Regions from separate parts of the Homo sapiens genome. Here all the other regions are linked to region 2. Evidence: promoter capture Hi-C in 16 types of primary human blood cells and fetal thymus (Javierre and others, 2016). All regions are on one chromosome and are shown on one strand. Each heading gives the region's core, a stretch centred on a gene start or on the middle of the fragment in contact. The rest is flanking DNA. Distances are from core to core; before and after follow the strand shown.

The links. The method cuts DNA at HindIII sites, captures the fragments that hold promoters and counts their contacts. A CHiCAGO score of 5 or more calls a contact.
Region 1: a contact is called between a fragment that was not itself captured here and the fragment with the promoter of USP28 in region 2, in 3 of 17 cell types (total B cells, naive B cells and neutrophils). The highest score is 6.9, in total B cells.
Region 3: a contact is called between a fragment that was not itself captured here and the fragment with the promoter of USP28 in region 2, in 1 of 17 cell types (naive B cells). The highest score is 5.5, in naive B cells.

The regions. Positions count from the first base shown.
Region 1 is chr11:114,109,877-114,112,728 of GRCh38, reverse strand. All of the region lies in intron 2 of ZBTB16 (zinc finger and BTB domain containing 16), which reads right to left. Among named protein-coding and RNA genes, the nearest start is that of ZBTB16, 52 kb to the right of the region's middle. RefSeq lists a silencer at 1,296-1,496. The HindIII fragment of the contact is 960 bases long and covers 1,010-1,969 here.
Region 2 is chr11:113,874,233-113,876,936 of GRCh38, reverse strand. It overlaps USP28 (ubiquitin specific peptidase 28), which reads left to right and starts at 1,365. Exons shown (of 26, transcript NM_001346252.4): 1 at 1,365-1,492. The coding sequence starts at 1,436. RefSeq lists enhancers at 145-806, 857-1,106, 1,096-1,390 and silencers at 1,127-1,286, 1,307-1,666. The HindIII fragment of the contact is 13,869 bases long and covers 1-2,704 here.
Region 3 is chr11:114,026,839-114,029,538 of GRCh38, reverse strand. No RefSeq gene overlaps it. Among named protein-coding and RNA genes, the nearest start is that of ZBTB16, 32 kb to the left of the region's middle. The HindIII fragment of the contact is 3,700 bases long and covers 1-2,700 here.

The sequences.
Region 1 (2,852 bases), core at 240-2,739, 240 kb before region 2:
TATGGAGCCTACATTTCAACTAGGTCTTAAAGACTGGGTAGAGCTATGAGAGAGAACAGTAGGACTGCCTTCTGGACAGGTAACTCTTAGGAAAGGTCTCCTCAAGTAGAGAAATCTTTATGGTTCAAGTACATGCCAAAAGGACAATATTTCCCTTAGACAGAAGGGGTGTTTTGACGACAGCCAACTTTTTTACAGGAAGAAAAATCAATCTTTTAACATCATTCATTCTCACCAGTCTTTCTCCTCTTCCTCATCCCTCCCTTCCTCATCTTCGTGCCCTCTCTATCCCTCCCTTGCTCTCCCTCTACCTTCTCCATCTCTCATTATCCAAATACTTTTCCAAAATTTAGATTATAAAATATGACCATCAGATGCTTTATAAAATCTACGCTACAGACATCATTGTGACATTTTTTAGTTAAATAAATAATAGAAATGTTCTGTGATGAAAGGAACCATAATCAAAACTGTAGGACAAATGATAGACTGGGAAGAATCTTTGCCATGCATTTGACAGATAAAAGATTCATTTTTCTGATTTATATCGAAAGAGAACCAACAAATGTGCAAGGAAAAGGCAAAAATCCGAAAGAAAATCATGCAAAAAGTTTTAAATTTTTGATGTAGTCAAATTTACACATCTTTTCCTCTATAACCTTTGGGTTTTATTTACAACCTTTTACATATCTATTATATTATTTACAATATACATCCCCCACAAAAAAATTGACAAATGGACACCAGAGAGAAATTCTTTCTTTATTGAAGTGCGTCTGGAAGCCTCAAAAAAAAAATGTTTAAAACAGACTTGGGGTAAAAGGGGAAGAGGAAGAATGTGTCTCAACAGTAGCCAACAAAAACATTCAAGATAAATAAATTCAGCATTCTGGCATCTGTGGACCCAGAAAAACTAGGTTGCAGATTAACTTAATTAGGAAAACCACCCACAACAAACCAATAGCACCAGGAGAGGGAGACGGAAAGAAGAGACTGAAAGAATGAAGCTTTGTCAAAACAGAGGTGTCAGAATCACAAGTAAAATAACTCCCAAAGGAACTCTCAGCCCTTCATAGGACATGGTGGTCTCTGCATCTCATTCATAATGTTTGCCTTGGCTGAGGTTCTAAACCACAAAAACATCTGTACAGAAGGAAGCAACCAATTTCAGTGAAATCATACTGGAAACCTTTAACATTATTTAGCGTCATTTCATGAGAGGACAATGCAGTTAATGTTCCCCACTGGAAGGACCGTCTTGTGGTTCGCAGCGCTAGGCAGTTTCTCTCTTTCTCTCTATTGGTTTAAATGTGAAAGAGAAAGAAAAGGGGGATTTCAGAAATGGAGGGAAGAAAGAAATAAACCATCTAAGGAGCACAGCCAATTATATAGGTTGGCTTTAATTTTCAAACTAGTGCTTAAATACCAATGGTATTATTGCCTTTAGCTCTCTGGAAACTACAGTGTAATTAGGTTCACTCAACTTAACTTAAAACATGCCCAGTCATTAAAATTTTTCTTGATCCAGCCAAGTTATCTCGCGCGTGCACACACACACACACACACACACACGCAGCACAGATCTCTAAGCCAAAAGTACATCACGTCCCCAAGAAACGGCAAAAACATGTCACTGCTTTTTGGAAATCATGCTCATGTTTTGTGACCTTCCTTAAAGATAATGTTCTCACGATTAATTAATTTATGAATAGTTTTCCCCCCAACATGCACAACAGGTTCCATGCAAATTCTTGAGCTTTTAAATTATACTGTTAATGAAAGCAAATAAAGGCAGTTAAAAGGCAATTTGCTCAATTGGTGTTAATATTTAAGCACAGCATGTGTAAAAACAAGATCACAGAATTCAGTTTTTACAAAGAAAACTTTAACCCAACTTCATTTCCAAAAGATTAAACATGTTGCCAAGAATATTTTCTCCCTCTACCCTTCAGCATCAGGTAATGAAGCTTTTTATTACGTAAATATTTCACATTAACCTCATCAGTTTCTATCACTTATAAATTCCAATCTATAAAATCAAATCAGCTTAATCATGTTTAGATTAGATCCTGCATCCTGAAGGCAAACTAAATTATTTACATCCTCACTCTCCTTGGCACATTCAAGCACCAAGACTTGAAGACATCAGAATAGAAAGGTTTCCTCTGCCTTCCTATTCCCGAGGTCTCACTGGCCCTCCTTCTTTAAATCTGCATCAGTGAAACCAACATAGCAGCCTTGGCATCGGCAAATTCTTCTAAACCAACCTCACGCAAAAGCCCTAAAAGTTTACTGGCTGGGCAAAGGCTTGGCCGTGGCTTTCCCTGGAGTATTTCTAGATTCCCCTACGAAAAAGAAAACTTCCCAGGTCAGATTAGTAACAGTAACTTCCCTGGTGACCCCAGATTGCTGCCTTGGGGGACTGTGCACAGGTTGCCACAGAAGACTGCTCTGTGACTGATCTTTGACCGTAGGGTCTGGCTGAAATGCTCCACATCTCCAAGAAAGTCTGAGCCCTTCATAGGGCTAGGAAAAGGGGGTGGGGGCACAGTGGAAAGGGTTCGCTTCTCCATGACATGAGGGGCTCCACCAAGAGCCCTAAATACCGCCCCCCAGCACACACATTTGCACCTAAGTCCCCCACATTCTTCACGCCCCTTCTCTGAGAGTCTAGTCCCCTCAAAATAGAATTTCAAAATGTTACAACGTTAAATAGATGTTGAAGGCCCTCAAAGGAGTTGAATTGTGGGCTCCTTCCAGAAGTCCTCCTGTGGCCCCCGTCTGCTCTATCCTCCGGTCCTGCTCTTCTAACATACTTCAGTTTCCCTTGCTGCTCTGCCCAGCTGTTCAGC
Region 2 (2,704 bases), core at 116-2,615:
CTGCACCTGACCTGTACCTGTTTCCTTTTGTCAAAAACTGCGCCCGCATGCAGACTAGGGAGGCCTGCAGGTGAAACATAACAATCCCAGCGACAACAATGCCAGGAGTATAGGAAAGGCCACCGTCCATGTTAAATTCACACTTAAAAGTGTAGCTTGAGAGTCAGACCAGACCAGGGCAAGGGTGTAGGTGCTACTCTTAAAAGACGCGCTTCCACACTCAGCCTCTACGCAGATTTGGGACACCCAGCAGCCTGTCAAGTGGGTTTGCCATCATAACACATTTGTATCTTAAATGTGAAACATGGTTCAGTAATCACAATTCCCACACAGTTGTTGAAAATACAATTCAGGCCTGGCGCGGTGGCTCACGCCTATAATCCCAGCATTATGGAAGGCCGAGACGGGCGGATCACCTGAGGTCAGGAATTCGAGGCCAGCCTGGGCAACATGGTGAAACCCTGGGTGTGGTACAGCGTGCCTGTAATCCCAGCTACTCAGGAGAATCGCTTGAACCCAGGAGGCGGAAGTTGCAGTGAGCCGAGACCGTGCGGCTGCACTCCAGCTTGAGGGGACAGAGTGAGACTCCGTCTCAAAAAAAAAGAAAAAAAAAAAAACAAACCGAAACCAACCAAACAAAAAACAATTCAATAGGAGCACCTGGTCTTTTAACATGAAATCGTAAATATCTGGCTCAAACGTAACAAAGTAACACAAAATTTTAGTTTGAACTTCTGAAAATCGAAAATGGAAAAACTGCAATTTTCCTTATCATGCCCAGGTTAAGAGCATCAGGGTTAAGGGCACCAAGCGGGACACCCATGAACGGAGGCTTTGGTCCGTTTGGTTAGCTTTAGACAAGCGACTGCATTCATCCTCCTTCTCTCCTTAAAGATGGTGAACACTTCTTCATGTCATTGGAGTTGGAAATGGCTACAAAGCCTGATGGGAAATCCTTTATTCCACGGTCATTCGGCAGTTTCCCACGGCGGGGGAACAGTTTTAACTCGCCCGTGGGGAGGGTGGAGCCGGAGGTCAGTCCTACAAATGAGGTTTTGAGGGCAGAGAGCGGAGAAGACTCAGGAACGCGGCTCCCAGGATTCGCAAACCCAGTTCCCGGACACTGGCAGCGCGGCCCGCAGCCTCCACCGGCTGTGAAGCTGACCAACAGCGACAGGCGGGGCCGGGATCACGTGACCGACGTCTGGTCAGCCGGGCGTGCGCGGGAGCACGCAGAACTGTTCGGCCCCGGGCCGCGCGCCTTGCGTGCGCGCGCATGCCGGGGGCGGGGCATGTGGGCCAAGCCTCCGGCGCGCGCTGCGGGCGGGGGCGGGACGGAGCGGGGTGGAGGGCGGGGGCGGGGCCTAGTCCTGAGAGGCTGGGCCGGCGGCGGCTGCGGCGGGAGACCGGTGACCCGCGGCTGGGCGCCTCGGCCATGACTGCGGAGCTGCAGCAGGACGACGCGGCCGGCGCGGCAGACGGCCACGGCTCGGTGGGCTCCGCGGCGGCGAGCGGGAGCTGGGGGCGGGCTCCAGGCCCTGAGGGGAGCGTGCGGGGCCTGCAGGGCTGCGGGTTGCGGGCTGCGGAGGGCGCCCCGGCCGGGCGGGACAGGGGGTGCGCCCGCCAGCGTGGGTGAGAAGGCCAAGGGCTCTGCGGGGCTCGGGCCGCGGAGATTGAGGACTGCATCTTCGCGTCCGTGGGCGAGCTGAAGTTGTAGGGGGATTTCCAGATTTTGGAAAACCAAATATAAAGGGCTGGACGTGGGGTTCTCCGCCGCAGGGATCAGTAAGGTGAGCCCTCCTGGGCCCCGTCCGGGGTGAGAAACTTCCGAAAGCGGCAGCGTTGGTTGGTTTTGTTTTGCTTTGACTTTTAAATCAGTTTTATGGCGGCGTTTTTAAAAGGTTAAAGCAGACCGAAGTTATCTCACTTAAAGTCCGGAATTAATCACCGTCTTCTATAAGACCAGGGGTCCCAGTTACCACCACTTCCCTCCCTCCCAACCCGGCTTTAAAAACAAAACAGCGCAGCCTCCCCAATTATTGCCTTCATCGCTCTAGATTTTTAAGGAGGGGGAGGAGCTGCGTGATGAATAGAAAGTCTACTGATGATGATCTCCTGTTCCCAATGTCTAAGAAGATTGAAATCAATATAAGGACTTCTGATCTAAGAATCTGGTGAGAGTGAAAGAACCCTGGTTTGAGAGAAAAGCTAATGTCTGTATGAAGAAACTTGGGAAGAGGGCAATTTGAGCATGTCTTCTAGTGTTACTTCGGAATGTTATAACTTAACACCACCTCCTCACCCCTCAAGTACTGCACTTTTTCAAGAGAAAACGGGAAATCTGTGCCAGTTGTTCAAATACGAGTTTGGAGATGAGAAACTATATTTGTCGTACAAAGCTGGCAGACAGATACCCTCAGGTGAGAATCCTTTTATACCTTTTTACTCTTTTGTCTGGAAGGCCAGTAGTATTTAGCATGGAGACACTTTTTTTTTTTTTTTTTTTTTTTTTTCGACAGAGTCTCCCTCTGTTGCCTAGGCTGGAGTGCTGTGGCGCGATGTCGGCTCACTGCATCCTCCGCCTCACCCTCCTGAGTAGCTGGTATTACAGGTGCTTGCCACCGGCCCGGCTAATTTTTGTATTTTTAGTAGAGTCGGGGTTTCACCATATTGGTCAGGCTGGTCTCAAACTCCCGACTTAAGG
Region 3 (2,700 bases), core at 141-2,640, 150 kb before region 2:
GAGCTTCAGAATCAACTGGGGGCAGTCTTGAAAAACACAGACGCAGGGACCCAATCCCCAGAGGCTCCAATCCAACGGATCCAAGATGTGCCCCTGGCCTGTGCAGGTGTTGAAAGCTCCACAGGTGTTCCTGATGCAAAGCTGGATGGAGAACTATTTCCCCTGGAAGGTCCACACCCAGCCCTCACTCTAAACTTCCCCTTCTCAGCTCCAGATGGTGGAAGGAGAAATACCTACACTCTCCCTGGTAAGCAATTGAGGAACACAGAGATTCTGCCTGAACTACAAGCAAGACATAGAGGCAAAAGGATGACATTCTTAACTCCAGGGTGGTTAAACCCTAGGTAAGAACACAGGTAAAGTTGTTAAGTAAAGTTGTTGAGATCCCCCCTCTGGCAGCCTTTCCAGGTTACACAGATACCCATCTGGGAGCAGAAGGTTGAGCCAAAAGACCTTTAGATCTTTAGCTTTTGTAAGATTATAAGTATTTCCATATTTTATGGATGAGGAAAATAAAGGCCAGAAAGGTTCTGTGACTCTGTGAAGGAATTGACTAGAACCCAGGTGTCTTGACTCTAAGTACGTTTTCTTTCTAGATTATTTTTTGCATCTTTTTTATTCCAGTTATATAATCTGGGCATTGAGAGAATAAAAAAAAGAGCAAAAGAAATTCCAGGATTCATAGTCATACACTGGATGTAAGGAGGACAGTGGGACCCCTGAAGAGGCTTCCAGTTCTGAGATTGTAAGATGCTACAGGGGCTTGTCATCTGGTTGAAGAGACTTTTAAATATTTGACAAAGCCGTGTATTAAATATGCAAGTTAATATGAGCATCAAGGACATGGAATGAAGGACCTAATCCGCCAGTGCTTCCTAGAAAGGGACTCAAGGCAATACCTATTTACTGCTCATCGTAAGTTGATCACCCAACTCTGTGCTTAAGGCTTTGGGGAAATCAAGAGAGGTGGATGATCTTGTGCCTGTCCACAGGGAGCTTTCTGTCTAGTTAGAGAAGCAATGTGCACATGAAAGGGCTGGAGGACACTAAAGCAAGCAAGTCACCAGGACCCAGACACAGATGCTGTGGTCTACTAGTGAGCTCTCACTTTCTCTAGATTCTGAGAAGAGTGGGGAGTTGGACCAAGTTGGACCAAGACTCCCATGGCAAAGGAGGCTCCCTGGGGATTCTGGGCAAAGATCCCAGAGGCAGTGGGGGAATGGCTGCTTTCTCCAAGTCAAGGTGTGTTGAGGGGAAGTTAAAGCTAAACATAGGCTCCTGAGATGGTCTCTCCATACCACTGGGGCCTGTGGCCAAGCCAGTGGCCTCAAAAACCCCAGCTTTCCCTCTCCCAACTGGAAATAGTGGGACCTCGTCAACCCCACCACGGACAGAGCTCTGTCTCATCAGGCAAGTGCTGTGATGAAGAGCCACCTAGTGTGCATTTAATACTGTATATAAATACACTTTACAATCACGAAGAAGACTTTCTACTCAGAGGAGACCACTGGAATATTTTATAGTGATGCAGATCAAGTGAAAAGAAGGAGAATAAATAAAAGGGAAGATAATTATCCGATGGAGTTCTTTCAGTATATGCCACAGCAGGGCATACTTACAAAGAATACATATTACTAGAGAGACACAGCTTTTCAAGCATCAAACTAACCTATAAATTGTCAGACTCGAGAATGAGAGGAAAGGAATGGGAGAGATTTGGGTGCCCATCACGCCATTAGCACTGGGTTCCGTGCTCCACCTTGCTTGCAACAGCTCTACACGCCAGCCACAGCACAGTCCCGCAGAAGGGAGACGCCACCTAATAAATGTCTCTGGAAAATTACGACTGTACTGCTACAGTAAAAAGATGGCGCCGTTTATCTCAGCACCATCTGCACAGGCTCATTTGTTGCTCCTGAGGCAGCCCACACGCACCCAGCAAGTTTGCAACTCTCCAACACTTGGAGTGTTTTCTTCACCAGGATGCTGTGGGACTTGGAATGCAAATTTCTCTCCCGGCTCTGCGAGGTCAGCAGGAGAGATGATGCAAGAGGCCTGCAGCTGGACCTCCTGGCTGGTACAAGTCACCTGCTCCAGCATCCGATCTCAAGGTAGGGACCAGGAGCCTGGAATCCTTCTCATGCCAGTGAAAGCAAACATGAAACATCGTTCGTTGTTCATCCATTCATTCAGCTATTTAACAAACAACATGGAGTAGATGCTACATGCCAGGCACTGCAATGGAAATTAGGAGTACCTGCATAGCTGGCTCATACTTCCTGCAGGTTCTTATTCAAATGTCATCTTCTCAAGGAGGTCTTCTCTGGACCTCCTTCTCTAGAATTGAAACACCTCCTTTTTATAGCAGATTTGGTCCTGCTCTGTCAATATCCCCTCAGATCCCTTTGCCATTTTCATGTGCACGGACTCCCGGCGTGTGCTCATTCCCAGTAGCCAGCACCTGTGTCCCTTTGTAGATTGACTGTCTTCAAAGCTGCTGGAATCTACTTTGCTGTAGGTGCCCGGGAATCTATACAAACTGACTCCTACCCACCCTGGAGGTAGCCTTTAAATATTCATTGAATTCATGTGTACAAATCTATCAATACTTGCCCCCAGTGGCTACTACATTGTGAGGTGTTGGGTGTTGTTGAAACATAAAAGACTGAGGAGGGGGTAGGCAGTTATGAAACTAGGAAT